7 separate regions of the Homo sapiens genome follow, and regions 1, 3, 4, 5, 6 and 7 are each linked to region 2. The links are contacts of gene promoters, found by promoter capture Hi-C in blood cells and fetal thymus (Javierre and others, 2016). All regions are on one chromosome and are shown on one strand. The core of a region is centred on a gene start or on the middle of the fragment in contact, and the rest is flanking DNA. Distances in the headings are between cores, read along the strand shown.

Region 1 (4,052 bases), core at 148-2,647, 740 kb before region 2:
TTTTAAAAAAAATTTAATTTACTAAGTGTATTCTTTCTTCTTTCACTAATAAGCAGGTGAAGCATCCCCCAATTCAAATATAGGTAGGTAAGAGCACCATAAAGACTTTATATTGCCTTTGAAATATGTCCTTTCATAAAGATAGCTATCTAACTTGGAAGGCAGAATACTTTGCCTTTTCCCCCTTCCATTTTTTTACTTCTCTTTTCAGAACACTTCTGTTTTCTACTTCAGTTTCATCATAGTCATAATCTATTAATAGTTTCTGTGTCATTTATACTGAAGTTAGCATTGCCCTGATAATACAGAACTTCCTGGATGAGAAACAAAAATCTGCACTTAATAAAGGTGGAGAAAAATGAAATTTGGTGTGCTTCCTTCTAATGATGAGATGCAGTTTGGTATTTAGCCAACAACCTGTCTTCCTTTCTCTGGAAACTATCTGGAACAATTCAGACAGAAAAATGGCTGCTTGAAAATTTAGTCAAAATTTAAAAAGATAAAGCTAAACAGATAGTATCATTTTTTTTTTTTTTTGAGGCGGGGGTCTCACTCTGTCACCCAGGCTGGAGTGCAGTAGTGCGAACACAGCTCACTGAAGCCTCATCTTCCCTGGCTCAAGTGATCCTCCTGCCTCGACTCCCAAGTAACTGGGACTACCTGGCTTATTTTTGCATTTTTTGCAGAGATGGAGTTTTGCCATGTTGCTCAAGTTGGTCTCAAACTCCTGGGCTCCAGCAATCCACCCACTTTGGCCTCCCAAAGTATTGGGATTACAGGTGTGAGCCACCGTGCCTGGCTGATAATATAATTTTTTAAGAAAAGAATTGATAGGAGGGGATTGGAAGATTAATAAAACATTAGATAAATTTTTTATCTTAGACATTTTATCTTAATAATAAATAAATCCATTCGTAAAGGAAGCTGTGTTGTCTGTCCTTTTCATACTTATTTCTAGTAATTGAGTCACTGGCATTGCTCTCTTGAGACCAAAAAACCCTGCCTGTTCCTCAATTCTAATAGTCATCTGCTGTCTCATTCTCCATTCCTGAATGTCTCCTGGTCTTCTGCTTGTGACCCTGTCTTTTGGATGTTGTCTTTCCCTCTAGGTCCCCCAGTATGCAGAGTGCTGTGCCTGAACTCAAGGTTTTAAGCTGGGGTCCCTGTTACCTGCTCTCAGACCCCCTGACATTGCTTATTTGGACATATTGTACCTTGCTGCTAGGTTCACATAACAGCATCCTCCATCCACCTATATGCGCCTGTCAGACGACTACCCACTGTTGTAGGTTTCTTCCTGCTTGTTACTTGGATTTTTCATTTTCTGCCCCACTCTCCTAAGTCTGTTCTCCAGCTCCTGTCCTTTAGAGGTGCTTGAAAAAGTCCTGTCAGCCATTTCACTGCTTTGACAGGTACACATCTTTGTGTGGAAAGATTTGAACCTTGTTTCTAGAATATCATCATTGTGACTCTGCCCAGGACCAAGAAGTATGTCAAAATCATTCTTGCCATGATTTATCACAGATCTCCTAAACTTGTGTCCAACTAAAAAGAAGCATGTTTCTTTCCTGCAGCAACTTGACAAGGTTAGGCAGAAGAGTTGAAGGAGGAAAGAGATGAGTTCTTCTTAGGCAAGCAAAATTCACAATAGGTGTCAGGAGCCCTTTTTCACTTGCAATGAATTGTCCAGTCCTCCAGGCATTGTATTGTCCCACTTCTGCTCTGAGGAAGACTGCTAATGAAACACAGAGGTCAATTTCCACTTCTCACTTCCTTTATAACTGCCTTTGCTAATAGGATTATGTCCTTTAGGGATTCTGACTCATGTGGAACTTGAATCTATAGAACCAAGTGTGAAGTTGTTTGGGGGCATAGATGAATGATTAGTTAGGCTGAGCCTAGGCTTTTCTTTTTTAAAAATGCACACTACAGAATTGTTCCTCAGTCACAATTCTGAGGCTCTTCCCTTATTTCTCAGTCCCAGAGAGCATATCTTTTAAAAACTCGTTACCTTTTCCTTTAATCTTTTTTTTTTTTTTTTTTTTTGAGATGGAGTCTCGCTCTGTCACCAGGCTGGAGTGCAGTGGTGGTGCAATCTCGGCTCACTGCAACCTCTGCCTCCCGGGTTCAAAAAATTCTCCTGCCTCAGCCTCCTGAGTAGCTGAGACTACAGGCGCATGCCACCATGCCCAGCTAATTTTTTTGTATTTTTAGTAGAGACAGGGTTTCACCATGTTGGCCAGGATGGTCTCGATCTCCTGACCTTGTGATCTGCCTGCCTCTGCCTCCCAAAGTGCTGGGAGCTGGGATTATAGGCATGAGCCACCACCCCCGGCCTCCTTTAATCTATTTTTAAATTATATTGCATGTCTAGACTTTTGTGATCACATTCATTGATCATCACAAACTTGCTGTGCCTCTTTTTCCCTGGCTCTAATCAATTCTTTCTTCATTTTGTCAACAACGGATTAAAATCACCTTAAAATGCCATTTCACTCATGTTAAATCCTATCTGTGCATTGTCTGTGGTATCACATCCAAACATACCATGTCTTTAAGATCCTGCTTAAACTGGCTGCATGCTATCCAACCAGCTTCACCACCATTCCTGACACACAGATGTGTTGCCTCCTGGGAAAGACAGTCTTCTCACTGAACTTCAGGGCAGTGCTCTATGTCAGCCCATGTTTGCCTTCAATCAGTATGCTCTTTATTCTGCTCATTCGAAGGTCAAGAAAAAGTCTTACCTCCTCCTTGAAGTCTCATTTGGTGACTCTTTCTCTTAATGATTTATCCCTTCTCTGACATTCTACTGCCTTTAATTATTTCCTATATAATCTATGTGAGTGAAGGCCTGATTCTAGTAGATCCTATTAGATTCTTTAAGAACAAGGGTCATGTGTTATAAATGACTTTGTCTTCATTTGAAGTAGCCACCTATAGGTACTCAAAAAATCTTATTTATCGGCTGATTTAAAACATGAGTCAAGATTCATCAACCAAAAGAGGAGGATTCAAGCACCAGGCAAGACCAGACACGCTGAGGTTGTATCTTAATGTTCTCTTCTGTTTTTATGTAGGTAAAATTATCCAATTTCAGGGGCAAAGTCAAGAACTATCATGAATTACTGCAAGAGCTCCCAGTGGTCCAAGGAATACGACATGAATACTGCAGTGAGGGTTTCCTTTGTTCTGGCTGAGAATGTGGCTCTAGGTGATAAGATCCTCAGGAAAATCTCCTAAAGGTCTGGGACATCTAACAACCACGTAACAAATTTTTCTTTTTGGGTGGAATATGAGGGCAATAGATTATTTCAAGGTCCCTGCACCTGTGATCACTGTGTACTTTTCTGGAAGACGTTTACATGTCAGCTCTATAGGTCAATGAATACATACATAAATCACCTGCTTGAGGACTGTTCAGGATCTTCGTGATTGGTGTGCTTCCCTAAATTAATCAGGCAGAAATTTAACTCTGGTATCCCAAAGGAAACAAAGAAAGTTATTACAATTTATTGTTATTATAATTATGAACTTATTACTATTACAAGATTTCACAAGTGAAAGTATAATTGAATTGGGAGTGCTTATAATTAGATTTTCCTACTCAAGACAACAACTGTCCCAGGAAATGTTTTAAAATGTAAGAATCGGAATGTGAATTGTCCAACACAGCCACTAGCCACATGTAGCTGTTGCGTACTTGAAATGTGGCTAGTCCAAATTGAGAGGTGTTGCAAATGTAAAATACAGACAGAATGTCAAAGACCTAGTGTGAGAAAAGAATAAAATATCTTATTAATAATTATTTATATTGATTATATGTTGGAACAATATGACCTTGGATATATTTGGTTACATAAAGTATATCGAATTCAATTTTACCTGTTTCTTTTTACTAATTTTTAATGTGGCTACTAGAAAATTGAAAGTTATACATGTGGCCCTTATTATGTTTCAAATGAATAGTACTGAGTTAGAGCATTTCTTCTTATTGCCTAGAGTAGAAGTCTGGAAATTTCTGGCAAAAACTGGCTAGGGGGTTCCCACTT
Region 2 (4,332 bases), core at 113-2,612:
GCATATCTTAAAAATAGTAGCTACATATAAAATTTTAGCTACATGAAAGACTTTAATATTTCCAACATACACTGTTTTCTCTTTCTCTTCTTGCATTGTTTTTCAAAACGAGTTGCAAAACTATGATCACTAATGTGTTAGGAAAGAAAAAAAACTAGTTGCAAAACATTACAACTTAGCTCACCTTCGCAGTTCAAGATTATTTTCTTTTTTATGTACTACCTGGTTTATCAGCTTTAACCTACAATATCTCGTCATTGCTTTCTGACACTCAAATTCAGTCTAAAATCAAATCAAGAATTTCCTAACACAAAGGTAAGTTTAGGTATAGGACCGATCTTATACCTTCAAGGGCAGTTTAAAGATTCTGCTAAAAATTAGTATGTATCTCCATCAATATTTTGAAATATTTATAACTGGTGGTAAGAATAGCCTTCCTACATGGGATAGTCAGGTTAAGATTAGAAATAACCAAGCGTATCCTCTAAGATAGTTTTTTAAATGTTTAAACTTACCTTTAAGGGAAATAAGTGGGGGCTGACTCACGGAAAGAGGGGATAGAAGGTAGGGAAAGGGCGAAGGCTAGAGTTAAGTGAAGAATCCCGTACGTAGAGTGACATCATAGAGGACTTTTGGCTGGTGAAAAGACCAGTCGGGAATATAGCCAATATATATCAACCTTGCCACTCATATAACTTAAAACCGACTGCATATGTATCCCCGTATTTCTTCTTCAAAACACTACTAACAAATAATAAATCACCGCCCATATAAGCAATCTGCGACTCTAATACGGGTGCTAATTTATTTGTTCAGGTGGTCTACAAACGTTCTGTTCTGCCTGTCTATTAAATTTCCACACGTACTAGGCGCTCACATGGGATAACCTGATGCTTACAAAGCGGATTAAACTCAGTGGCAAATGTTATCTGGGTATTCGTTTACACACGGAGACACCCCTAAAGGATCGCACCTGCTTGGGTCATAAGAAACAGAAAAATGCAAAAACTAAGGTAATTCCAAAAGACAGAAAACGCAGAACGCTTCTTTATCTGCAGAATGTACCGTTCTCGGACGGCTCAACGTACCAGGCTCCCAGCAACTAAGTCAAGATGCCTCCAACTCGAGAGACAGGACCGTCAGCCACTCAGTTAGCAGCTATCTTCTTCTAATTCCTATTGTACTAGATGAGCGCAATGAGGCGGGCTCTTAGCCGACAACCAACCAATTGAGTATTGTATGGAACCGGAAGAGACTCTGGTCCTGGAATTCTTGGGTATTCTCTATGGTTCCAGGGTCAAGCGGCGCTAAGAGAAGGCGGGACAGAGGAATGGGAAATGACGTGAGGAGTGCGGAGGGGCGCGAGGTTTCAAGATGGCGGTAGCTGAGGGGTTGACCGAGAGACCCAGTTGAAGGCCTTTACGAAGTGAAAGAGGCCGGGAGTCGCCCCCTACCCGCTTCTCGTAGTCCTGGGAGCACAGCAGAAGTGTGAGTGTATTGAATTGATTTACTACTCTTCCTCACCTCTTTCGTCCCTTCCACGTCCCGCGCAGCGGCTTGGGGGACACCCAGCCCCTTTGCCCCGCTCCTCCTCTCCCTGGTTGAGGTCTCCCTGTTGCGGACTGGGCTATTCCTGGGCCTGGGGTGGCGCGGCGACCAGTGGTTGCGCGGTTGGCATCGCCCGGGTCGGTTGGGGCCGCTTCTTACGCACGTTGATTAGTAGCCTTAGGTTTGACGTCTTGTACCTCGAGTCATGGTCGGTCAGCCGTCGCTATGGTTTCGTCAGTTGCTGGTGTTGCCTCCTTTGGTGAACCTGGACCCTATCCCATTGAAGCTTCTTTGGCTGTTTAGAGTTATCCAACGCTTATTTGGCTTGATTTTCCAGTCGCCTCCGCTTGTAGACAAAAAACTAATCTGCAGACTTAAGCTCCAGTGTCTTCCGTAAAATTCTCTGTAATTCGTATCCGTTGTGTTTCATTTGTGGGGGAGGAGATTCAGAACATGAGCCTGAGGAAACTTGAGAAAGGAAAGCACAAAAAACGCAGGCAATCAAAGATGGGAGAGCTTGTATATGTACTGATTTTGCTTGTTTTCCTCCTTCCCTACCTCCTACTCCCTGCTGCTCTCCCACCCCCCTAACCCCCCCATCCCCAGTTTTTCTTAGAAGGAAACCACTTGACAGGGTGTATGGTAGCTAGGCCAGGAATATGGATCCATTATAAAGATTTTAGTTAAGTAGTGAGTCAAACATCACAGGATATTTTATTTGTAATCTCATTGTATCATCAGAGCTTTGTTATAAAGTAATTGATGTCCCCATTTTTTAGATGAGGAAGCTAAAAATCAGAGCCTTTGATACCGCTGTCTTGAAGTAATTGCCACCAGAACAGCTGTGAAACATCTGGCTTTCTGAAACATCTGGCTTTCGGGGCAGTTGGACACTTGGTGAAAGAGACATTAACTGTAATAAACTGGGCTGACAAAATCTTCCCTTTCTTACCTTTAAAAAGTGTCTACTTGCAAAAGGAAGCAAATTTGTCCGCCTTTATTACTGGAAAGACTGCGCTTCAAAAAATTAAGCCCCATTATTTTGGAATAAGAGGAAGAAGTCATGTAATAGGGTACTGTGTTAATAAAAGTTTTAGCTTACAAAATATTTTTTCCTCAAACAAAAATAAGTATTCCCTTTAATTACCTTAAGAAATATATATTGGGAGTCAGGTCTTAGTAAGAAAAATATGTGTCTTAATATTTAAGTTTTGGGGAGCTCTCAGTATAGCACTAATTTCAAATATTTGCATTTTTAGTTGTGTTTTGAACTCTTGAGAGTCAAGCATTATATCTGAACTAGAACTGAATCTGAATTAAATATGCTTAAATTAATGAGTTTTTAGTGTCTTAGAAGTATTGAGAATGTACAGCATACATGCCAAGAAAAACCATGGAGAGAGGCAAAGGTGAGGTATGTGTTTTGAGCCTAGATCCATTACCCCCATTCCCTTCTTATTCTTCTTTTACAATTACATGTTAATAAAGGGAGGTTATAGAAGAAGGACTAATGAATTCTGATGTTCATGGTTTGTGCCATATCGTTAAAGCATTTTCTAGTTGTTTTTATCAGTTGACAAAGTCAGTGCTGTGATCCATAAGAAAAAAGCTAAACTGATGACTTGAGGATATTCAAAGTGGTCTTCACACTCATCACATTTCTGAAGAATGATAGAGATCTAAATTTTCATGGTCAAGAAAGGTGATGCCATCTTTCTTGGACATTAAAGTCAAAACTAAGGAAAGAACAGTCTCACAGAATTTCTAATTAAAGGAATTTTTTTTCAGAGATTGGTAGGGACTAGAAAAAGGAAGAAATACATTTAGGAGATATAAGCTATTTCTTTGTCTTCACCTTCACAGGTTTTTCTTTTTTTAATGAACAAGTAAACCATACAAATTGTCAACATGGGACGGAGATCTACATCATCCACCAAGAGTGGAAAATTTATGAACCCCACAGACCAAGCCCGTAAGTGTCCATTAGTGTGGAATGATGAAGTAGGAGAGTGTTAAAAATTGCAAATATTAGGGAATTTCTTTCTCTGTGGCTTAATTACAAGACCAGCAGTGATAGGAGGAATAAATTATATATTCAGGGTTTGTATGGGCACATTAAGACTTTAAATATGCAAAGAAATTAGTACCCGTATTTTATTTTTCAAATTTGATTGACTTGCAAAGTAGAATTGGCTGAAATCTTTCTTTTTATATTGGAAATTTTGAGCAAATTAGTTTTGCGAGCCCTTGTTTCGCGTTTTATGTTATGTTTTTCCTTCAGATTCATAGTTGTTTTTTATGAAACATTAAACAAAAATGTCTTGACATTTTTGGTTGTCATAATTAGAGGGATGCTCTTGGCATGTAGTGGAGAGAATCCAAAGATGCTGCTCTTTTACAGTGCATACTGTAACTTTCCACAATAAAGAATTACCTGTATTAAATTGGAGGAAATGCTAATGTTCAAGATTCAAAGATTTTATTATATCTCCCTCTCTCCTTTTAAAGGAAAGGAAGCCCGGAAGAGAGAATTAAAGAAGGTATGATTTTAGAGGCATCTTATAAAACTTTAAGTATTGTTTGGTACATCTTGTGATTTGGGATTAGTGGGTTTCAGAATAACATTTCTAATATTTTCTAGAAAAGGTACTTTATGCTTTTTATAAAAACTGTAAGATATACTAAGCCAAACTTTATTTAGGAACTGAAGTAACTTTGCAGAGAAGCTCACTACAGGTTATAATGCCATTGTTTGATTACTTTTCCCAGTGAGTTAAAAAATAC
Region 3 (3,904 bases), core at 862-3,361, 550 kb after region 2:
AATTCCTTATACCTTCTTATCATCTTACATGGCAACCTCTTTTTTTCTGTTGTAGCACCACTGTAACTTACAATTATATATATTTGTTTTCTTGTACATTGGCTCTCCCCCTTCACCCGCAACTAGCTTTCTAAGTACCCTTGGGCCGTGTCTGTCTGATCAAAACTGTATAACAAGCATAGGACCTGGCAAAATGTTAGCAAGGAGCAAATATTTGTTGAACAGATTAATTAAATTCAAATATTATTTCTCTGGTCCCAGTCCACTACTTTCTGGCTTCTTCTTTTATACCAGTTAGTTCTTTTACGATTCAGTCTGTTTTCTTACTCTTGTGAACTTTCAGGAACAACTGATTTATTTCAGGGTTCCTCTTTACATAATGAGAGCTACTGAGTAGAATAGAATCTTCACAGCTTCTGGGGGGTACCAGAAAGATGCCCAGAAAGGGGGTACCATGGCCATTACTGGCACCTCAGACAAGGGCAGGCTTCAAACAGGGAGGCCTGTGGCAACCCCTCCCCTATGTCTGAAGCTGAGGGGATGGGGGAGCTAAGAACAAAGGAAAGAAGAGAAAAGTGTCCAGGGAACAGGTGGGGACCATGGTCTTCTTGCCCCATCTTCCTCAGGGGTTGGGGGGTACAGAGTTGGTGGTGGCCCATCCTGCTAGGTCCCACTGCCCCTCAGAAGAGGCCCCAGTCCTTCAGGTTGTTCTTGATGATGACGTCGGTGATGGCATCAAACACGAACTACGTTCTTGGTATCGGTGGCGCATGTGAAGTGTGTGTAGATCTCCTTGGTGTCTTTGTGCTTATTCAGGTCCTCAGACTTACTCTGGTTGTAGCTGGCTGCCTCATCATACTTGTTGGACCCTGTGTACTCAGGGAAGCAGATGGTCAGGGGCTGTGTGTGATCTTCTCCTCCAACAGCTCCTTCTTGTTGAGGAAGTAGATGATGGACGTGTTTGTGAACCACTTGTTGCAGATGCTGTCAAACAGCTTTTATCCCCTAAGAAAAGACACACTAGTCTTATAATTCTTACCGTCTGTGTTTTCTCATCTGTAGTACTTGATTTTACTCTGAGATGGAATTCAACTTGGGTTTTGGTTTCTGAGTCTGGAGTCATGCACATGGTTTTCCCCCTTCCATCTTTATCAAAACTGTCCCTATCACCAGAGGGAAAGGATTTACCAATTCCTCCTTTAAAAGAGTATCCTGGCGGCCAGGCCTGGTGGATCATGCCTGTAATTCCAGCACTTTGGGAGGCCGAGGTGGGTGGATCACCCGAAGGTCAGGAGTTCGAGACCAGCCTGGCCAACATGGAGAAACCCTCATCTCTACTAAAAATACAAAAATTAGCCAGGGGTGGTGACGGGCGCCTGTAATCTCAGCTACTCGGGAGGCTGAGACAGGAGAATTGCTTGAACCCGGGAGGTAGAGGTTGCAGTGAGCTGAGATCATGCCATTGCACTCCAGCCTGGGCAACAAGATTGAAACTTCGTGTCACACACACACACACACACACACACACAACGGGCATGGTGGCTCACGCCTGTAATCCCAGCACTTTGAGAGGCCAAGGTGGGCCGATCATGAGGTCAGGAGATTGAGACCATCCTGGCTAACACAGTGAAACCTCACCTCTACTAAAAATACAAAAACTTAGCTGGGTGTGGTGGCATGCACCTGTAGTCCCAGCTACTAGGAGGCTGACGCAGGAGAATTGCTTGAACCCAAGAGGTGGAGGTTGCGGTGAGCCGAGATCGCGCCACTGCACTCCACACTCCAGCCTGGGTGACAGAGCGAGACTCTGTCCCAAAAAAAAAAAAAAAAAAAAAATGGATCCTAGCTGGGCGAGGTGGCTCACGCCTGTAATCCCAGCACTTTGGGAGGCTGAGGTGGGTGGATCGCTTGAGGTCAGGAGTTTGAGACCAGCCTGGCCAACATGGCAAAACCCCGTCTCTACTAAAAATATAAAAATTAGCTGGGCATGGTGGTGGGTGCCTGTAATCTGAGCTACTAGGGAGGGGATACAGGAGAATCGCTTGAACCCGGCAGGCAGAGGTTGCACTAAGCTGGGATCGTGCCACTGCAGTCCAGCCTGGGTGACAGAGCAAGACTCAGTCTCAAAAAAAAAAAAAAAGATTCTACTCCTGGCCAGGGACTCATCCAAGCAGAAGTCTAATGCCACAGAATTTCAAGTAGGCAATTTGCATCTCTGAAAACCTTCAGATGAGAGAGAGAGAGAGGGGCCACCAATTCACTGGATTTCAGCCCAACACAAGAGTAATGTCTTTGGGGCTTTTTTTTTTTTTGAGACAGGGTCTCACTCTGTCACTGATGCTAGCTAGAGTGCAGTGGCCTGATCCTGGCTCCCTGCAGCCTTGACTTCTGGGCTCAAGTGATCCTCTCACCTCAGCCTCCAGAGTAGCTGGGACTATAGGCATGCACCATCACACTTGGTTATTTTTTTCTATTTTTCTTTTTTTTTTTGAGACAGAGTCTCACTTTGTTGCCCAGGCTGGAGTGCAGTGGTGCAATCTCTGGTCACTGTAACCTCCACCTCCCTGGTTCAAGCGATTCTCCTGCCTCAGACTCCCTAGTAGCTGGGATTACAGGTGCCTACCACCAAGCCTGGCTAATTTTTGTATGTTTAGTAGAGATGGGCTTTCGCCATGTTGACCAGGCTGGTCTTGAACTCCTGACCTCAAATGATCCACCCGCCTGGGCCTCCCAAAGTGCTGGGATTACAGGCATGAGCCACCATGCCTGGCCTATTTATTTTTTTATTTTTTCACAGAGACAGGGTCTCTCTGTGTTGCTCTGGCTGCCCTCAAACTCCTGGCTTCAAGTGACTCCTACCTCTGCCTCCCAGTGAGGTGGGATCACAGGCATGAGCCACTGTGCCCTGCCTGGAGCATTTCTTCACCTAAGCAAATTAGCTGTTCTAAAAGCTGTGCTAGGTGTTGGAGGACATTTGAAGCACAGCTTTATTGTGTATTTATTGCAAGGTTTTGATTGACTCGTTGTGAAACTGGTAGGATTTCCCTAACTGACTACAAAATTCTGTGACTTTCACTTCTTTTTTTTTTTTTTTTTTTTTTTGGGATGGAGTTTCGCTCCTGTTGCCCAGGCTGGAGTGCAATGGCACGATCTCAGCTCACCACAACCTCCGCCTCTGGCGTTCAAGAGATTCTCCTGCCTCAGCCTCCCGAGTAGCTGGGATTACAGGCATGCGTCACCACACCCGGCTAATTTGTGTTTTTAGTAGAGACAGTTTCTCCATGTTGGCCAGGCTAGTCTCGAACTCCTAACCTCAGGTGATCTGCCCACCTCAGCCTCCCAAAGTGCTGGGATTACAGGCGTGAGCCACCACGCCCGGCTGACTTTCACTTCTTTTAACTGGTTCAGGGTAATCAATAGTTGAGAGACCGAATATTGAGGTCAGAAAAACTCAAAGCTCTGAAGCCGTGGTTTCCTCATCTATTTTGTTTTTTCATCTATAAAAATATCTCTATAAAGTTGTAATAATCATTATAAGAGCAATTACATAGCAATACTTTGTGCCAGTTTACTGTTATGATATATATGTATATATAGTATGTATAAACCACATTGTATATATAAACTGTTTTCCTCATAGCCACCCTTTGGAGAAGGTACAATTGTTCCCATTTTATTTTTATTTTTTATAGTTAGGATCTCTGTCTGTTGCTCAGGCTGGAGTATAGTGGTGCAGTCATAGCTCACTGTGGCCTTGAACTCCTGGGCTCAAGTGATCTTCCTGCCTCAGCCTCCAGAGTAGCTCAGACTGCAGGCTTGTACCACTGCTTCTGGCTAATTTTTAGATTTTTAGTAGAGAGGAAGTCTTGCTATGTTGCCTAGGCTGGTTTTGAACTCCTGGACT
Region 4 (3,826 bases), core at 951-3,450, 780 kb before region 2:
CTTAGCTTTGAATCACTGTGAAATGATGGGAAAAGAGAAAGTTCAAGCAAATTTATATGGAAAGTTTGCTAGAAAAATCCCACTCTATAAACCTTGAGTTTAAGGGTTGCTTTTTCTACTAGACAACTCTTCCCTCCCAGGATTTCTCAGATAAAATGATCTGCCATTGGGTGAGCACCTGTAAAGTCATATCCAGAACTGCACTTACTATCTTCCATGAAAGGAATCTGTGAGTTTGACCCCAGAGTTGAAGAGCTTCATTTTCTGTTCTTGAAAAGAACCATTTTGAGAACAGATAATCTTACCTGCTAAAGCACATCTTTTAACCTGTGAATGCCTACAGTGGATTGACAGCAACAATATCTGCCCTAAACAGAAACTTAGTAGCTTATGAAGCATTTTCCTTTCCAGGGAGACACACACTCCACACAAACACACATGAATGCACACATATACTTCCTCATTCTAGTCATTCTAATTCACAAGGGCCAAGGCAGTAGGTCTGGGATTGTAGATTTATTTGCTTAGGTTGGCATGGCTGCCAATGCTTCCCTTCACATCTTCATCCCACTGCCACCTCTCACTTGCCATTGGAGCACGTTTATGTCCCCTGTTCTTTTGAGGTTGCATAAGGATTTTACAGCAATATTGTATCACAGAGATAGATTTTGATGGAGCTCTGTTCATACAGTAGGAAGAACAAATTAAATTTAATGATAACTTTTCCTGTTGGGAATTAGTGTGGACCTTGATTTTTTTATATCCTATATCCTTTTTCATTCTACTGTCTGACAATTTAAGAGACAATCCCGAAGAGGAATCATAGCAAATATGTTTATCTTCCTAAGCTGAATATTTTCATTTTTCTTTTCCTTTTCTAGTTTTTATGCCTATTTATATTATGTCAAGCTGTGATCAGCTTTCTATAATTTGACCTTGTATTTGTCCATGTTGTAACTACCCAGAATCCTTGATGGAGTAGGATAATATCACATATTAAGGGCATGATCTTTGCAGATTGGCATGCCTGGATTTGAATACTAACTCCTCCATGTTCTAGTTGCATGAACTTGTGTGAATCCCTTAACATCTCTACCCTTCTCTATTTTTTTCATTTAAAAATTGGAATAATAACATCTATTTTATAGGGTATAGATACAGGAAAGCCAGAATAAACATTGTATATAGTGAGACATCAATTAATCATAGTTTAAAAAACATCAGAGTTTATTTAATTTTCAACTAAACCTGATAAGGGCTTATGGAATGGTGAGCTGTTCCCCTTACAAAACCAACTCCTAATATTTAATAGAAAATGCAGTTGATGAGGTTACCTGCAGTGAATGATCATGGGACCTTTGCTCTTGGTAGCTTGCTGTCGGACCATGTGTACAAACTGCAGGATACTTTCTGCAGCATTTGCTGTGGGCACACCATGATCAGGCCATGCAGTGTAGTTAAAATGCATCACATCCTGCATCTCGTCAGCCTTTAGAGAAAAAAGCCAAAAACAAGCATTAATTTTTCAGTTCACTGTTAGGATGACCCAGGACTCTGCTAGTTAAGCATGCAAAAAGGTAGAGCCACGTTCCACTCCTGGTCAGTACACTTTCCTTTCCAGCTTTGAGCACCATATCTGGCATAAAATAGGTATTGAAAAAAAAAACCACGCTAATTGTATAAAGCTTCAAATAGTAGGATAAGTAGGCTAATCTGTACCTGTGGACAACACTTAAGCAGATTAGGGTTTGCATCCTGGCTCTGTCATTTAGAAGCTGCATCAGTTTTGGCTAATGAATTAAACACTGTAGAAAGTGCTGTTGGTGCCCTTTAGATACACTTTGCCAGCCTGGGACACACTTTTCCCAGTTGCTGCTAACAGCACAGCAGTACCTATCTCTTGATAGTTGCCTTCCACTGCACAGAGCTGCCTCGATAGAAAATGCCTAAGAGGTTGCGTTCTCCTGCTGAGGGAAGCCCACAGCTAATGACTGACTAATTGTGGGGTACAAAAATCCAGCCTTTTTCAGAGTGAGACAGTACCATGGTGCTGTTCATGCCCCCAGCACTCTCTGTGGGATCCAGCACAGGTGAGATTTTCAGCTGAATGCTCTGTAGGGCTTCTTCTCTGTCAATCTGCTTCCCTTGCTCCCTTATGGGCTTTCCCTAAGAATGCACTTTCACAAAATCACTTATATGAGAATCCTTGTCTTGGGCTTTGATACTAGAGGACTTGACTCACTGAGCTTCAGTTTTCTCATATCTAAAAATGGCCTAATGATACTTATAACAAGAGTTGTTGTGTGAATTAAGTGTAATCATGTGTGTGATATTACTACTTACTAGTACCTCATTACCATCACTCACCGTCATCCAGCTCCGTGCAATTGTATGGTTGATTCTGGGAGTCCCCAGTAAGTGAGTATAACTTGTATATTTTCCTATTCCTATTAACCCATACATCAAATATATTGTTGTTCTCTCTGAACTGAGTACATATTAACTAGAATGTATATCTTTCCAGATCAACTCTTTTTAGTCCCAACTAACTTGTAAGAGTTACATATTCTCCACTTGTTATCAGCCATCAGAAATATCCCAAACCCAGGCTTCATAAAGGTCTGATTCATCCCTCAGTTCTCAAACTTGTGAAGAGCCTAGAATTCACTCAGAGGCTGGAATACTATATCATAACTGGGAAGGAGGGAAGCTTGGCCTCGCTGTCAGTTTTGAGCTAAAATTTAAGTTCAGGTATTGAAAGAGAAATGAATTTCAAAGAGTCAGTGGTCTTGGACAGAAAATAAACGTATAAAGACAATTCATAAATAAAATGTATAAATAAATATGTAAGATTTGTTTAAATATACATAAGTTATCACCTCCCCTACACCCATTGTACCCTTGGCACCTAATATATCCCCAGCAGCATGCAGTGCCTCCCCTACTATGTTCAAGGGCTCTGGCTTAGACACACAGAACATGAAGTCTACAAAGACGCTGGCTACCCTCACTGCTCTCTTCAGGAAGTATGTTGAGAAACTATCTTGGGCATAAAGAATTGTGCAGAATAATTTACTTATTCAACATCATGAGGATTTAAGAATACTCAGCCACCAGATAACTTTGGTTGCCAGGAAAGTTCAGGAAAATGCTTGCCCTGTTTAAATGCTGATCATAATTTGTATAACATGTGTACATTGTAGCCAATATATATATTCCAGTACGGTTGAAGTGAAAATGTATTCAGTTAAAAAGTGCAAGGTGATTTAAAATCAGGAAATCATTAAATTGTAGTTAGTTTCTCCGCAGCTACACGGCAGGGGTCCTGGAACTGGGGTCAGCCCTGTGAGCTGAATAGCAGGGCACAAAGTCCCTGGCAACAAACACGTTTTTGATGATCTTTAGTCTCCAGCTCTCACTCAGTTGATGCCAAATTTCAAGTAGTAGAAAGTGACAAGTTGTGTGTTATGGTCATTTCTCTCCTTTCTTGTTAAAGGAGAAAACTCTTCTGGTTTTATCTTACTTAGCTATTCCTAAATTTCTCTTACCTTGAGTTCCTTATTTATGTAATTTTATCTTTTTATAATTGGAAAGTTTCCACATATCAATATGGAATGGATAAAGAAGGGTATAAACAAAAAATGAAACAAATTGAAAAATATATTAATTAGCATAGCACAATGTTCTTTGGGCAACTTAGCCTTCATTGTAGCTTAACATTTAGATTCATTATGCTTATGGCCAAAAGGGGGCACTCTGGTACCAGACGCTTGTAACAAGTAAATTCCTTACAAACAAACACTACTGTTCAATGTTTTATTCCTAT
Region 5 (4,280 bases), core at 769-3,268, 760 kb before region 2:
AGCCTCCCAAAGTGCTGGGATTACAGGTGTGAGCCACTGCACCTGGCCTAACTGTGGTCTTATGTCCAATTAGAAAATACATAGTATTTAATAATGCTCATTTAAAGTTGTTGATTAGCTAATCTGATTAATTCATTTATGTTAACATTTTAGTAAATTTTAGAGGGCGTTATATCTTCCAGAGAATACCTTTAAACTGAAATGTTTTTACTTAATAACAATAACTCATTTATAAAACACGCTACACTTCATAAATAGTCACATGCATTATCTTGCTTAATTGATCCCTGAGGTAGGAATAGACAACATTAGCTCCATGCTCCAGCTGAGAGAGCCACGGCTAAGAGAGTTAAGTGAGTAGCCCAACATCACATGTCTACTAAGCAGTAGAATTCTCACTGGAATCCAGGGAGAGTAAGTCCTGGTTCAAAGCTTTTCCCACTTCAAACTTGTTATCCTTCCAAAAGAATGGGCTAAAGTTGGGACTCCTCTCCTGGAATGAACCCCCTTAGAACTGCACTCTCTGGCTGGTGTCTTTGGGCAGTGTATCGACCTTAAAGTTGGATTTAACAACTCTAGCTTTCATCTTGTTACTAGGAAAATGGGCACATGTATACAGAAGGCAAACCAGACAAAGTATTAATGGGTTAAAAGAAGTAAAAGCAAGAAGCAGAGGGAAAAGAGAGAGAGAGGAAGGAATAGCAAACAGAAGAATGGACATAAGGGAGAAGGAGAATGACAAGGAGAAGAAAAAGAAAGCTGGAAGGGAGTAGAGACCAAAAGGACAAATATCTACAGAGGAAAAAGAAAAAGAGGAGGTGATGGAAAGGAAGGATGGAATGAAGACAAGTGGAGATAGAAAATGGGAACCAGGGGGATATGGTAGTGGTGGGGCATTTGGAGGGAAAGAGAAATGGTAGAGAAGGCAAATAAAAAGGTGAGAGGAAAGCCTTTCAAGAAATGTCTTCTAGAGAAGGAGAGAGGAGTCAAAGGAAAATGAGAGGGGGGAAGGTGGAAGCCGAATTGATGTGAGTTTTTTTTTGCTTGTGGGTATGTTCTACCACTCCTAATCTCTACCCTATCTTTTGTCTGGGTCTTGCTTCTCCTTCTTTTCTTTGCCTGAGTCATGGGAGGAGCAAGCCTTGACAGTCTCTCCTTTTCGTCCAAGGACGCTATCTTCTAAATGCTCTAGTCTCTGCCTCTTTAGCTCACCTGCCAACCCAACCAACAGTTTTTGGTAACAAAGTCTTTCTGTTTCTGTGAAATCATCCCTCCCAGGTGATGGTACCCTCTCCTCTATTCAGTCTGGTCTTATCTCTCCTACATCAGTTGGTATAAGCCAGTGGAATGTATGCTGGTTTGAAATTGACTTAGAGGCTGGACACGGTGCCTCATGCCTGTAATCCCAGCACTTTGGGAGGCTGAGGAGGGTGGATCACATGAGGTCAGGAGTTCGAGACCAGTCTGACCAATATAGTGAAATTTCGTCTCTACTAAAAATACAAAAATCAGCCAGGCATGGTGGCGTGTGCCTGTAGTATTAGCTACTGGGGAGGCTGAGGCAGGAGAATCACTTGAACCTGGGAGACAGAGGTTGCAGTGAGCCAAGATTGTGCCACTGCACTCCAGCCTGGGTGACAGAGCGAGACTTCATCTCCAAAAAATAAAATAAAATAAATTAAAAAATAAAAATAAAAAATGAAATTGACTTAGAAAAAATTATTCTGTTTTCATATATGCCATAAAATTATATGCCACTCAAGACTAACTAGAAACATTTTTACATCAACTTTTCTTTTGGATTATGTCATGGATTACTCATGATTTCTTTCCATAAGCATAGATGCCACAGACCTGGCTGGACCCCCTAATTTCCTTCTTGTACTAATTCACCAATGTTCTATCCAGGCAGGTATCAAGAACAAACTCTATATAAAGGAAAGTTCCACTTTTCATATGTAGAATTATAACTAAGAAAAGGCATGGAGGTGATAATCTAATAGGCTTTTGAAATCAACTGGGGGTTAATTTTCACTTACCACAATAGTAATTCTTCTCATTTAATGGTTTAATAGATAAGGAAAACCACAGGCTAGATTAATTATCTTTTCTATTTATTATACAGGTTTCTTGAGAAAGCATTATCAAAGTATCTATTATAACATCAAATAGAGTAAAAGCCTTTTCCTGCAATAAACACAGAATTTCAAAATACTAAAAGGATTTTTGAAACCCTTTGATGTAGTTAAATATTAGATTTTCATATACTGTATTTAGAATACCATACTTCCTCCTCCAAGACTTTAAAAATTGCTAACGATCCACTCTCTCAGATTTGATATGATAAACATTGTCCTTATTTCTGATGTGATTTCTGTGATACACTTTTCTAGTGGCCACTGCCACTCAGGCATAAACAACCAGTACATTATTGTGCTTAGCTATTGTAATATGCATTTGCCTCTTTCTTAAGCGTCCCTTCTCTTTGAAGACAAGCAATCTTTAATTGGAACGTTAAGATTATTATAACAAACATCCTTTTAAATGACATAGTAAGAAAAACTTACTTTGTCAGTTTCCTCTTCTTTAAACCATTTTTACTCCTGATAATTAAAAAAGAAAAGACAAATTTATCTGGGCAGAAGAATTGATTAACATAATAATTAAACTTGAACAGCTTTAAATAATTACATCAGGTACCTCAGTTTTATTTAATTTTCATTAAACACATATCAGGTTTGTTTACTTTTCCTTACATGAGAAGATAATAATAATTTCAGATTCATTTTTTAAAACTCTACTAGATTGCATGAACATATCTGCACTTTATACTTCCCATTTGCCAAAAACTGAGTTCTAGAAATGAAATTTCTAACTGCTGTTGATTAAGTTGCTAAAGCAGTTTGTAAATATATAGAAGTATCTATCTACCACCTGAACACTCCAATTTCTACAGGCAGGAAGGAAGAATGGGGGAATAAATGGAGAACTAATAAAGAGACGGTGGAATGTTGTTTTCTTAATTAAAGACTAAAATAACATTTTCTGACATTTTTCTCTGGGGATGTGAATGTGTGCTGTCAGTGTGGACATGTACCTTGTATAATTCTACTATGGCGTTGTTTTTATTCCATCTTGAACTAATTTTTAAGCTATCTGAAGAACTGGACCTATTACCTGCTTGCTCTTCATCATTACTAGTCTATAAGCTCAAACACAGGAAATGCTAATGCATGCTTTAGTTAGTTACATTTGTTTAGGAGATAATTAAGGTAATGATTTTCACCCAACCAAGTAAGATAACTTACCTAAGTTAGCTAAGGCTAACAGTATCTATTGAAGCACTTTGTGATTGTATTCTTATTGTTGTCTATAAATAGTAAATACAGAAACATGATTGACTGTACAAGTGATGTTACAGCAAACTTTTTTGCAAGTAATTTTCAGAGGTCTTTACATAATTTTGATAGAAGCACCCAACTTTTCAGAAAATAAACAGTCTATAGTAAATAACCAGTTGTAATCTTAGTACTTTAATGTGTCCAAATATTTATTTATATTTAAAATTATGAATGTTTGGATATCTCCACTTCCTGAAAGCTTTTAGCAGGACGAAGCAGTACTTTGTGCTTTCACAGCACTTTGCAAACGGAGAGTTTCTCACATTGTGTGATTGTTAGTTGCAGGTACACACCTTGCTACACTCACTATAGCTTCCCCCCAGGGCTGAGCATAGTTAATGAAACACCTAGTGGGTGGTCAATAAATGCTTATTCAGTTGAACTGAAACAAAATAATCTCTGCCATGTTACCCTCTGAATTTCACCTAATGATTCCTTTAACAATTGAATACTAGACTTGGGCTTGTGATGTTCTGATTGAAAAGATGGGACTTGTGGATGAAGAGAAAATAATGCAGGTCAAGAAATGTAGGAACACGTCCACGAAGGCAAGTGGTGTTTGTGGTTTTCAGGTAGTTTTAATTTCTTCCCACTTCTAAGTGAAAACAATCCATTCAATGGTTCTTGTTCTATTTTTTCTCCCTCATCCTCTTTGTCTTCCACACTTGAGATTTAGAGGGAAAAATCAGTCCAGTTTTTACTTTGCCTCTCCCTGATCCCCTCAAAAAACACTATCATGTTGGACATAGCTGTATCTTATAGGCATTTGGGAACCTAAAGGAATATTTATTGATCATGTTTTTTATTCAGCCCCGTGATGGTAATTTAGTTAGTTTTAGGAGTTCCACATTTACTTCCTGTAGTAAGAGCCAATTACTT
Region 6 (4,339 bases), core at 654-3,153, 990 kb before region 2:
ATCCCATTTAAATTAATCTTTAGAAATTAAAAAGTACAATTAATTAAAATTTCATTTTAAACTTAAATGTTTTAAAAATTAGTCGGCTATTGATTTCTAACTGTACTGCCTTACAAACAGATGAGTCAAGATCAGAGGTCAGTGAATCACCACCCTATGGGCCACACTTGGCCTGTCACCTGTTTTTCTACAGCTGGCAAACTAAGAATGGTTGGTACATTTTAAATGGTCAAACAACACAAAAGAAGGATAATATTTTGAGGTCTGTAAAGATTACATAAAATTCAAATTTAGTGGGTCTTACATTAATTGGAACATAGTTAAGGTCATTTGCTTATGTATTGTCTATGGCTGCTATTGAGTTACACAGTGGCAGAGTTGTGTAGTTGCAATAGAGACCACTGACCTCCAAAACCTTAGCTTTTGTTATCAGGTCCTTTACATAAAAAGATTTTTAACCCCTTTTCTAGATGATGCAAATTCTCAGAAATGTATTAAGGTATGCTGGTTAATTTTTACAAATATTTCTTATGGGTTTGTTGAGTATGTGTATTCTCTAATTGCTATATGCCACATATGTATTATATATATGATATATACATATATCGATAGATATAGGTCTCTATATAAGTAATCTATATATATATTGAGAGATAGAGATAGATATAGAGAGATATCAATAACTTAACAGTGGTTGAATGGGTGTTGAAATAGCTACACTATGATAATGAGTTTTTCAATTTCCTCTTGTAGATTTTATCATTATGTGATGACCTTTTCTAGCCACAATAATGCTTTTTTATCTTGAAGCTCATTGCGTGTGATGTCAACATAGCTATACCAGCTTTAATTATTATATAATTGATATATCTTAAGCTTTCCACGTTCTTATGTTTGTAAATAACATATAGCTATATCTTTAAAAACTGCCTTGACTCTGTCTTTTAACTAGAAAGTTTAGTCCATTTATATTGTGATTATTTACATGCTTGAATGTTTTTCTCCTCAGTCTTTACCTTCTATCTATGTGTCTCCTTTCCTTCTACATTTCTTTTTTCTTGCTTTTTTGTGGCTTACAGAGGAAGATTGATTGTTAATATTTGTTTACCTCTTATTCTTTCTCCCTTCCTCTACTGGTTTGGAATTTCTACATCACATTTCCGTTCTTTTAGAGTCTTTAAGATATTGTAGAGCATAATGGTCAAAACCACGTTCTCTGCTTGAATTCAAATCCTAGCTTCATCACATACTAACTCTATGATTTATTATCTTTGTGTGTGTGTGTGTTTACCTGTAAAATTGAGGTTGTGAAGTACCATATGGATCATTTCTGTTAAAATCTTATTGTGAATATTTTTCTTAAGGACACTTAAAATTAATATATTAAACTCCTCAGAACAATACAAAAACCTTAGAATGATTTAACTCTAATTATCCTCCTTCTGATTTGTAAGTTATTCTCTAGCATTTAAACTGTGTCTTTTAAGCCTCACAATTTCATATTATTTATTAATATTATTTTGTACAGACCAGGCCTCTTTATATTAACCCAAATGTTAATCAGCTTCTTTGTTCACCATTTTTTCTTGTATTCCAGTATTTCCTACTGGGTCACTTTCCTTCATCTGAAAGTGTACTTCAGAAGTTCATCTAGTGAAGGCAGTGAAAAGAATAGTTTTTAATCTAAAAATGTCTTAATTACATTTTTGTTCTCAAAATATAATGTTTCTGGACACTAAATTATAGGTTGACAGCTATTTTCATTCAACATTTTGAAGATATTCCACTCTCTTCTGGCTGCCATATTGCTGTTGAAAATTATTCAGTCTACTTGTTTTTCTTTTGTAAATAATATTCCCCCCTTCGATGCTTTTAAGATTGCCTTTCCCCTGGTGTTTTGAAATTTCACTGTAGTTTATATTGGTTTGCTTTTTTTCATGCATCTTATGTGATACATGTATATGTACTGCCTCTATTTCATTTTCTTTTCAGGTATCCTACTTGATACATGTATATAGCCAGGACTTCCTCTTTTTGTAGATTCATGTCCTATGTTAATCTGGGAACAGTGTTAGCTATTGTGTCTTCTCTTGTCTTTACTCCATTCTTTGTGGTCTCTCATTCTGGGATTCTAATTAGAGATGAGTAATATCTTAACATTCTCTATATTCCATATCTCTTAATGTTTATTATTTTCTGTCTTTTTTCACCTTCTGTGGTGCATTCTGCATAATTTCTTCATATGTAGCTTACATTATTCTTTTCAACTATGTTTAATCTACTCTTTAACTCATTTATGGGGTTTTATATTTTAGCAGTTATATTTTTCTTTTCCAAAAGTTCTAGTGGGTTCTTTTCACGTATGCCTAGTCATCTTAGATATTTATTTATGATTTTAATTTTTATTTCTTTATACAGCCAGATAATAGCTAATTAGTTTTTTTGCCTCATAAATCGAATTATATTTGTTTATTCTGCTAACACTCATGTCAGCAGAATTTTCTTATATGGCTTGAGATCTTTGATTATGAATTCCTATTTGGTTGATGTTTATTTGTGGGAAATTCTGGGACACTAACTTGAGGTTATTTTTCTCCAAAGAGGATTTCTGTCTATCTCTCTTGGGAACTTGTGGGCCCAAGGACCTGAAACCGTACTGACTTCCTTCCAGCAGAGTCAGCTAACATGGGATTTAAAAGATTAGCTTCTTCACCTTGTAGCCGGTTTAAGTCTTATTTAAAAGATTACTGCCTACCCCACCTGCTTCAGCAATTTTGTTTTGTTTTGTTTTCATTTTGGACCCTGAGAGATTCCCTTTACTGTCTCAGAGTCCTACAATGCATATCAAAGTATATTTTATGCGGGATCCAGGTGATGTGTAGCTGGAGAACTTTTCAAATAATCTAATTTACCTTTCTGTGTGAAGCTTAAAAAAAATACATGCCAACTCTCTACATGCATATAAGTATAGTGTATAAGATGGGGAGTTCTTTGCCTGAAGGAGCTCCCAATGTCCTCTACATTTTGTTTGGTTTCCTCTTTTTTCTTAGAGTTTCATTACCTTTTCCATGTGTTTCATTTGGTCTCTTTCCCCTTTTTCCTTCTTTCAAAGGTCTCTCTTGATTTACCCTCTTACCTCAGCTACACTATTGGATTCAACTACATTATTATTTCAAATTATAATTATTAGTTGAGTCCAAAAGTATTTGTTGAATGAATGACCATTTCACACTCATTAAATTCTTCAAAAGACTCAAGTTCTTTTCAGATGCTTTTTACTCAAGTAACACTGGTTGGATTTTCTTCCCTTTGTGGAAAACTAATTCTTGATTATTAAAAAAGATGGAAAAGCAAAAGATTTCATCCATGGGTAAGCAAAGTTGTATATTCATTTATTTATTTTTAACTAATATAGTTTATTTTTGGTGAAAATAGAGGTTATATTTGGAAAAAATTTCCATGTTAAGAATACTTCCTATCATGCTTCAAAATTTCCATACATTTCTAATTACATATTACAAAAGAAATTAGGGCATTTTGACATTTGAAGGCTAAAGCAAATTGAGTTTGTTAATCCAAATGGGTGTAAAGAAACATAACTAACAAGAAATATAAACATCAGTTACAAAGTAAGAAGCAAGCCCAAGCACCTCCTAAAGTGAGAACAAATATAATAATCCAAGCAATTTGGTTTGTTCTTTCAACAGTGTGAAATAATAACAAGGGTGATAGCCAACCTGAAATTACTTGTCTACCAAGTTACACTTAGAAGATTTAGATCATCATAATAATAATATTCTAAGCTACAGTGTACCTTTTCTAGATTTACTCATGGATATGTTTTATGTTATATGGCTTTAAGGCTGTGAGTCTACAGAGGTATACACAGCAGTCCCTAAATTATATTCATACATCAGATTGGGGAGTGGGAGTGAACAGGGATGTTTGAAGAATTCTGACTCTTGGGTAATGTGGAGATAGCTCTTACTCCCCAGATAGAATTCAGTCATTATAATTTCTCCACATTTTCTGTATGTAGCATTTATACCCAGCTGTAGACTCTGCTCCTATATTTTGGGACAGAGTATTGCTCTGTCACCCAGGCTGGAGTGCAGTCAACTGATCTTGGCTCACTGCAACCTCTGCCTCCTGTGTTCAAGTGATTCTCATGCCTCAGCCTCCCAAGTAGCTGGGACTACAGGCGTGTGCCGCCAAGCCTGCTAATATTTGTATTTTCAGTAGAGATGGGGTTTCGCCATGTTGCCCAGGCTAATCTCCAACTCCTGTCCTCTGGTGATCGTTTGGCCTCGGCCTCCTAAAGTGCTGGGATTACAGATGT
Region 7 (4,266 bases), core at 186-2,685, 720 kb before region 2:
ATCAGAAAAATTTTGCAATGAATTCCCTTATTTGGAATGGGTCTCATTCTGACATTTTCTCACATATTGATAACAGGTTTTAGAAAAGACAATTACTGAGTTGCTACTGATATGTACATTCTAAGACGTTCAAAAGAAACCTACCCATATCTGTAGACGTGTGGCTTCCTACCTAACAGCCATTGTTATTTCCCATCCTCTCCTACAGCTAGAGGGGATGATGTGACCCAGCTCTGATCAGTGGATTGTAAGTAGAAGTCACATGGACAAATGACAGTTCAGTTCACATCCTGTAAGTGCTGGGCTTCCACATCATCCCTTTTCTTTTCCCCTTCCTGCAGGCTGGAACATGCATGTAATGGTGATAAAGCTTCCTCTCTAGAGACAAGGACTATGCATAGTGGCAGATGGAACAACAAAACAGAATTTGCCTCCCTGGGTGACCCCTTAAAGCAGAAGTGCCTGGTTAGTCCTGTGCTATCATGGGAGAGGTATAAACTTCTATTTTGTTTGAGCCACTCTCTTTTTGTTTGTTTCTTTATTACAGTAGTTTAGTCTGTCCCCTTATCAATAAACATCCAAAAGCGTATTTTGGAGAAAAGAAATCAGTAGTCCCAAGGTCCCCAAATCTTTAGGTGTCGGTGATATATGGGAAAAAATGGGAAACACGTTAATTGTAGTTTTCTTGAAAATGTTTGGCATCCTGAAGAAAAAGCTCAAATCATAATTCTAAATATAAATGAAATCAATAGTTGGAGCTCTTACATCTCACTGTTAAAGATTAAACGGTAAGCTCTATGAAAGGAAGAATTCAATTTTTGTTCACTGTCTTATCTCCAGAGCCTAAAACAGACAACTGGTATGCAAACATTTGACGTGTCAATAAATGATTGCTTAGTGGTTTTCAATAGTTCATAAAACTAAATTTACAGACACACAATGCTGGCATTCAAAGAAACATACACTCTTTTTAATTTTCTTTTTTCCTTCTGCAACCACCATCCAGTGAAGCATTCTAGAATGGGACAAGTCCGTTGTATCATCCCCATATGTCCAACTGATATATAACAGACTGTTGAAATATTCCACAGAAGTGATTTCCGGAGCCACTGGGGCTACAAGGGAGAAACGAGGCACAATTTAGTATAATAGATGGATAAATAAAGTACTTACCAGCAGAGCATGAAATCCCATATAGAGTCAACTTAGCGAATTAGAATTCACAGCACACGATAGTCCCGGTAACTTCAGGACCTCTCAATAACAGTGAAGGATGGTGATACAGGATGGGCACTTGTTTAATGGGATCCCACATCTTGTATATCTAAGATACAAGACCCCCAGACCCATCTGTACCTGAGGATATCAAAGTCTTTTGGATAAATGTCACCATTACAAAATTCCTAAAAAGTTCACTTGTTTGGGTATATTTTTGTTACATCAACCAATTAATATTAATAGGTATCAGTGGAGTTATTAGCCAAGTAGGATTAAAAAACTTAGAGTCCTGCAAACTAAGTCTCTTTCATTTACTTGCAGCAAAGGTGTTTATGGGAATAAAGAACAGTAGGATACAAGGGTAGGAAGATAGAAGATCATAGTACTACAAGCAGGATAGAAGACAAATGTTATTTGCATAAAATAACAAGACATTATTTTTGACAGTGTCTAGCCCAGTGCTTTGCAGAAAACAGGCTCTTAATAAATGTTGCTGAGTGAGTAGTGAGAGAGAGAAAGAAGGGAAGAACAAGTTTTTTTTTTTTTTTTTTTTAGCCACGAAGCTAAATTCTAACACTGAGCTTGCTACTTTATCATCTTATGCATTTAAATTTTTAAAAATTTAAGCAGGGAATGCCTGTAATCCCTGCATTTCGGGAAGCTGAGGTGGGTGGATCGCTTGAGTCCAGTTCAAGACCAGCCTGTGCAACATAGCAAAACCCCATCTCTACAAAAAAATTAGAAGATTCAGCTGGGCATGGTGGCACACCCTGTTGTCCCACCTACTAGGGAGGCTGAGGTGGGAGGACTATTTGAGCCCAGGAGATCCAGGCTGCAGTGAGGCATGAGCCTGCCACTGCATTCCAGCCTGGGTGACAGAGTGAGACCCTGCCTCAAAAAAAAAAATTACTTTTATTTTATTTTATTTTTACTTTTGAGGCAGGATCTCAATCTGTCACGCAAGCTGGAGTGCAGTGGCGCAATCTCAGCTTACTGCAGCCTCGACCTCCCAGGCTCAATCATCCCTCCTGCCTCAGTCTACCAAGTAGCTAGGACTACAGGTACAGGCCTTCATATCCAGCTAATTTTTATATTTTTTGTAGAGACAGGGTCTTTCTATATTGCCTAGACTTGTCTTGAACTCCTGGGCTCAAGCAATCCACCCATCGTGGCTTCCCAAAGTGCTGGGATTTCAGGCGTGAGCTTCCACGCCCAGCCAAAAAACGTAAATAAATAAAATAAAAAATTTGCCAACGAGGGAAGAGAATTCATCACAAGCTTTATACTATATAGGCTCTGAAAACATTTTAATTACCTTTTTAAAGTAACTGCTAACTCTGATTATTTTAAAAAACAAATACACAATTGAATTTAAATTCCAGGTGTATGTTGGTTTGAAGACAGTCGGTGTTCCATTCTGAGATACAGCACAATGTCAACTAAAATCTATGGAAATTTTCTATAAAGAATCATTTCCCCTAATGTGATGCTAATACTTACAACAAACATTCATAACTAGCTATGCTTTCAAAATTATTCACTGAAGAATTTGTAATATATGAAGTAAAAATGCATTTGTTTCATGTGAAATACGAGTAGCACTTATATAGTATGCTTAGCAATAAAATCTTGAAAGATCATCAATGCATCTAACAAGTAACACAAATCTACATCATATTTCAGAATATTCTACTAAAGGAAAATAACCTTGGCTTCCTTATAGCCTCCTAATATATTCCAACATATTTCGTCATATACAAGAACCTATGCATATATTTCTTCAAAGGGTATTTTCTCATGTCCTAATTTTAGTGAGGAAAAGAAACATCTTTAAAATTGCAAACCCAGAAGTATATATCTTTCCTCTCACATGTCAGATTTTTATTTCCATGTTGTTGCTTTAAAACCTAGCATATTGCTGGAAGGCCACAAGATGTCACTATTTGTTTATTAATACTTTGGCCCCTCCGCATAATTACTATGATTGAGGGCTAGCCAACTGAATTGCCTAACAAAGATGGTAGACTTGAGTTCCTAATAAATCACACCTAATTCAAATATTTTGTTCCTATTTTCTTTTACACCACACAATTTGGAAAATTCAAAGCATAGGAAAGTTAAGCATGAGATTCTTATTTGCTTTAAATAAGAAGGTAAAAAAAATCACACACACACGCGTTTTTACTTTATATATTACAAATTCTTCAGTGAATGATTATTTTTGAAAGCATACCTAGTTATGAATGTTTGTTATAAGTATTAGCATCACATGAGAACTGTCGGGGGGTGGGGGCAAGGGGAGGGAGAGCATTAGGACAAATACCTAATGTATGCGGGGCTTAAAACCTAGATGACAGGTTGATAGGTGCAGCAAACCACCATGGCACATGTATACCTATGTAACAAACTGCATGTTCTGTACATGTATCCCAGAACTTAAAGTAAAAGTAAAAAAAAAAAAAAGAAGGTTAAAATAAAACCTACTAGAATTTTCAATATGTTTAGAAAATAAGTATAAAAAAGACAATAATCTATTATAATAGTGACTTACATTACATGATTTAATTCTCACACATACTGTGAGGTATTTATTATTATGTATTTATTATTATTATACCCATTTTATAGATGTGAAAATTGAGACCATCTCTGTCAATATGCTGAGACAATACCTGTAGACTGCTGGTTCAGCATCACTTATTTATTTGACCCAGGAAAAGATAGAAAATCATCAACATCAATACATTGGTGACAACAGACTGCTTACCAGGTAAGTAGCTTGTCTATTAACCATAGTTTATTGATCCACACTTGCTATGTCCATTTAAACTGTTATAAACTATGCCCAATCCTAGTCAGTTTTCCATCTTGAAAGGCATACCTTAAACCACTTGAGCCAGGAAGCCAAATCCTATTAATATTTCATTTCTTTTGTTCCCCCTTAAAAGACAGTGCAAAGACTGTCAGGGTGGTGTTCAATATATTAAGTTTTGCTCTACTAATCAGTTGTCTCTAAGTAGGCTTTAGTGCCTATTTAGCTGACATTTT

Evidence for each region. The method cuts DNA at HindIII sites, captures the fragments that hold promoters and counts their contacts. A CHiCAGO score of 5 or more calls a contact.
Region 1: a contact is called between a fragment that was not itself captured here and the fragment with the promoter of WBP11 in region 2, in 2 of 17 cell types (naive CD4 T cells and non-activated CD4 T cells). The highest score is 6.5, in naive CD4 T cells.
Region 3: a contact is called between a fragment that was not itself captured here and the fragment with the promoter of WBP11 in region 2, in 11 of 17 cell types (activated CD4 T cells, fetal thymus, total CD4 T cells and 8 more). The highest score is 12.1, in activated CD4 T cells.
Region 4: a fragment that was not itself captured here is called in contact with the fragment with the promoter of WBP11 in region 2 in 6 of 17 cell types (non-activated CD4 T cells, naive CD4 T cells, activated CD4 T cells and 3 more); the score reaches 9.4 in non-activated CD4 T cells.
Region 5: a fragment that was not itself captured here is called in contact with the fragment with the promoter of WBP11 in region 2 in 7 of 17 cell types (naive CD4 T cells, activated CD4 T cells, total CD4 T cells and 4 more); the score reaches 14.0 in naive CD4 T cells.
Region 6: a fragment that was not itself captured here is called in contact with the fragment with the promoter of WBP11 in region 2 in 4 of 17 cell types (activated CD4 T cells, naive CD4 T cells, non-activated CD4 T cells and 1 more); the score reaches 6.6 in activated CD4 T cells.
Region 7: a contact is called between a fragment that was not itself captured here and the fragment with the promoter of WBP11 in region 2, in 5 of 17 cell types (M2 macrophages, M0 macrophages, M1 macrophages and 2 more). The highest score is 10.3, in M2 macrophages.

The regions. Positions count from the first base shown.
Region 1 is chr12:15,542,501-15,546,552 of GRCh38, reverse strand. All of the region lies in intron 12 of PTPRO (protein tyrosine phosphatase receptor type O), which reads right to left. LOC105369672 (a long non-coding RNA gene) reads left to right here. Exons shown (of 3, transcript XR_002957403.2): 2 at 3,081-3,245. Among named protein-coding and RNA genes, the nearest start is that of PTPRO, 220 kb to the right of the region's middle. The HindIII fragment of the contact is 8,324 bases long and covers 1-4,052 here.
Region 2 is chr12:14,800,508-14,804,839 of GRCh38, reverse strand. WBP11 (WW domain binding protein 11) reads left to right here and starts at 1,362. Exons shown (of 12, transcript NM_016312.3): 1 at 1,362-1,488; 2 at 3,412-3,520; 3 at 4,057-4,088. The coding sequence starts at 3,457. It overlaps C12orf60 (chromosome 12 open reading frame 60), which reads right to left and starts at 1,170. Exons shown (of 2, transcript NM_175874.4): 1 at 1,089-1,170. SMCO3 (single-pass membrane protein with coiled-coil domains 3) reads left to right here. Exons shown (of 2, transcript NM_001013698.2): 2 at 1-190. RefSeq lists an enhancer at 827-1,066. The HindIII fragment of the contact is 2,157 bases long and covers 1-1,836 here.
Region 3 is chr12:14,252,008-14,255,911 of GRCh38, reverse strand. It overlaps the pseudogene GNAI2P1. Among named protein-coding and RNA genes, the nearest start is that of ATF7IP, 110 kb to the left of the region's middle. The HindIII fragment of the contact is 4,306 bases long and covers 1-3,904 here.
Region 4 is chr12:15,584,560-15,588,385 of GRCh38, reverse strand. It overlaps PTPRO (protein tyrosine phosphatase receptor type O), which reads right to left. Exons shown (of 27, transcript NM_030667.3): 24 at 1,335-1,489. Among named protein-coding and RNA genes, the nearest start is that of EPS8, 200 kb to the left of the region's middle. The HindIII fragment of the contact is 1,025 bases long and covers 1,688-2,712 here.
Region 5 is chr12:15,563,916-15,568,195 of GRCh38, reverse strand. PTPRO (protein tyrosine phosphatase receptor type O) reads right to left here. Exons shown (of 27, transcript NM_030667.3): 18 at 2,568-2,603. Among named protein-coding and RNA genes, the nearest start is that of EPS8, 220 kb to the left of the region's middle. The HindIII fragment of the contact is 3,168 bases long and covers 435-3,602 here.
Region 6 is chr12:15,792,734-15,797,072 of GRCh38, reverse strand. No RefSeq gene overlaps it. Among named protein-coding and RNA genes, the nearest start is that of EPS8, 5.5 kb to the right of the region's middle. The HindIII fragment of the contact is 2,050 bases long and covers 879-2,928 here.
Region 7 is chr12:15,521,663-15,525,928 of GRCh38, reverse strand. It overlaps PTPRO (protein tyrosine phosphatase receptor type O), which reads right to left. Exons shown (of 27, transcript NM_030667.3): 11 at 964-1,115. Among named protein-coding and RNA genes, the nearest start is that of PTPRO, 200 kb to the right of the region's middle. RefSeq lists an enhancer at 1-371. The HindIII fragment of the contact is 2,126 bases long and covers 373-2,498 here.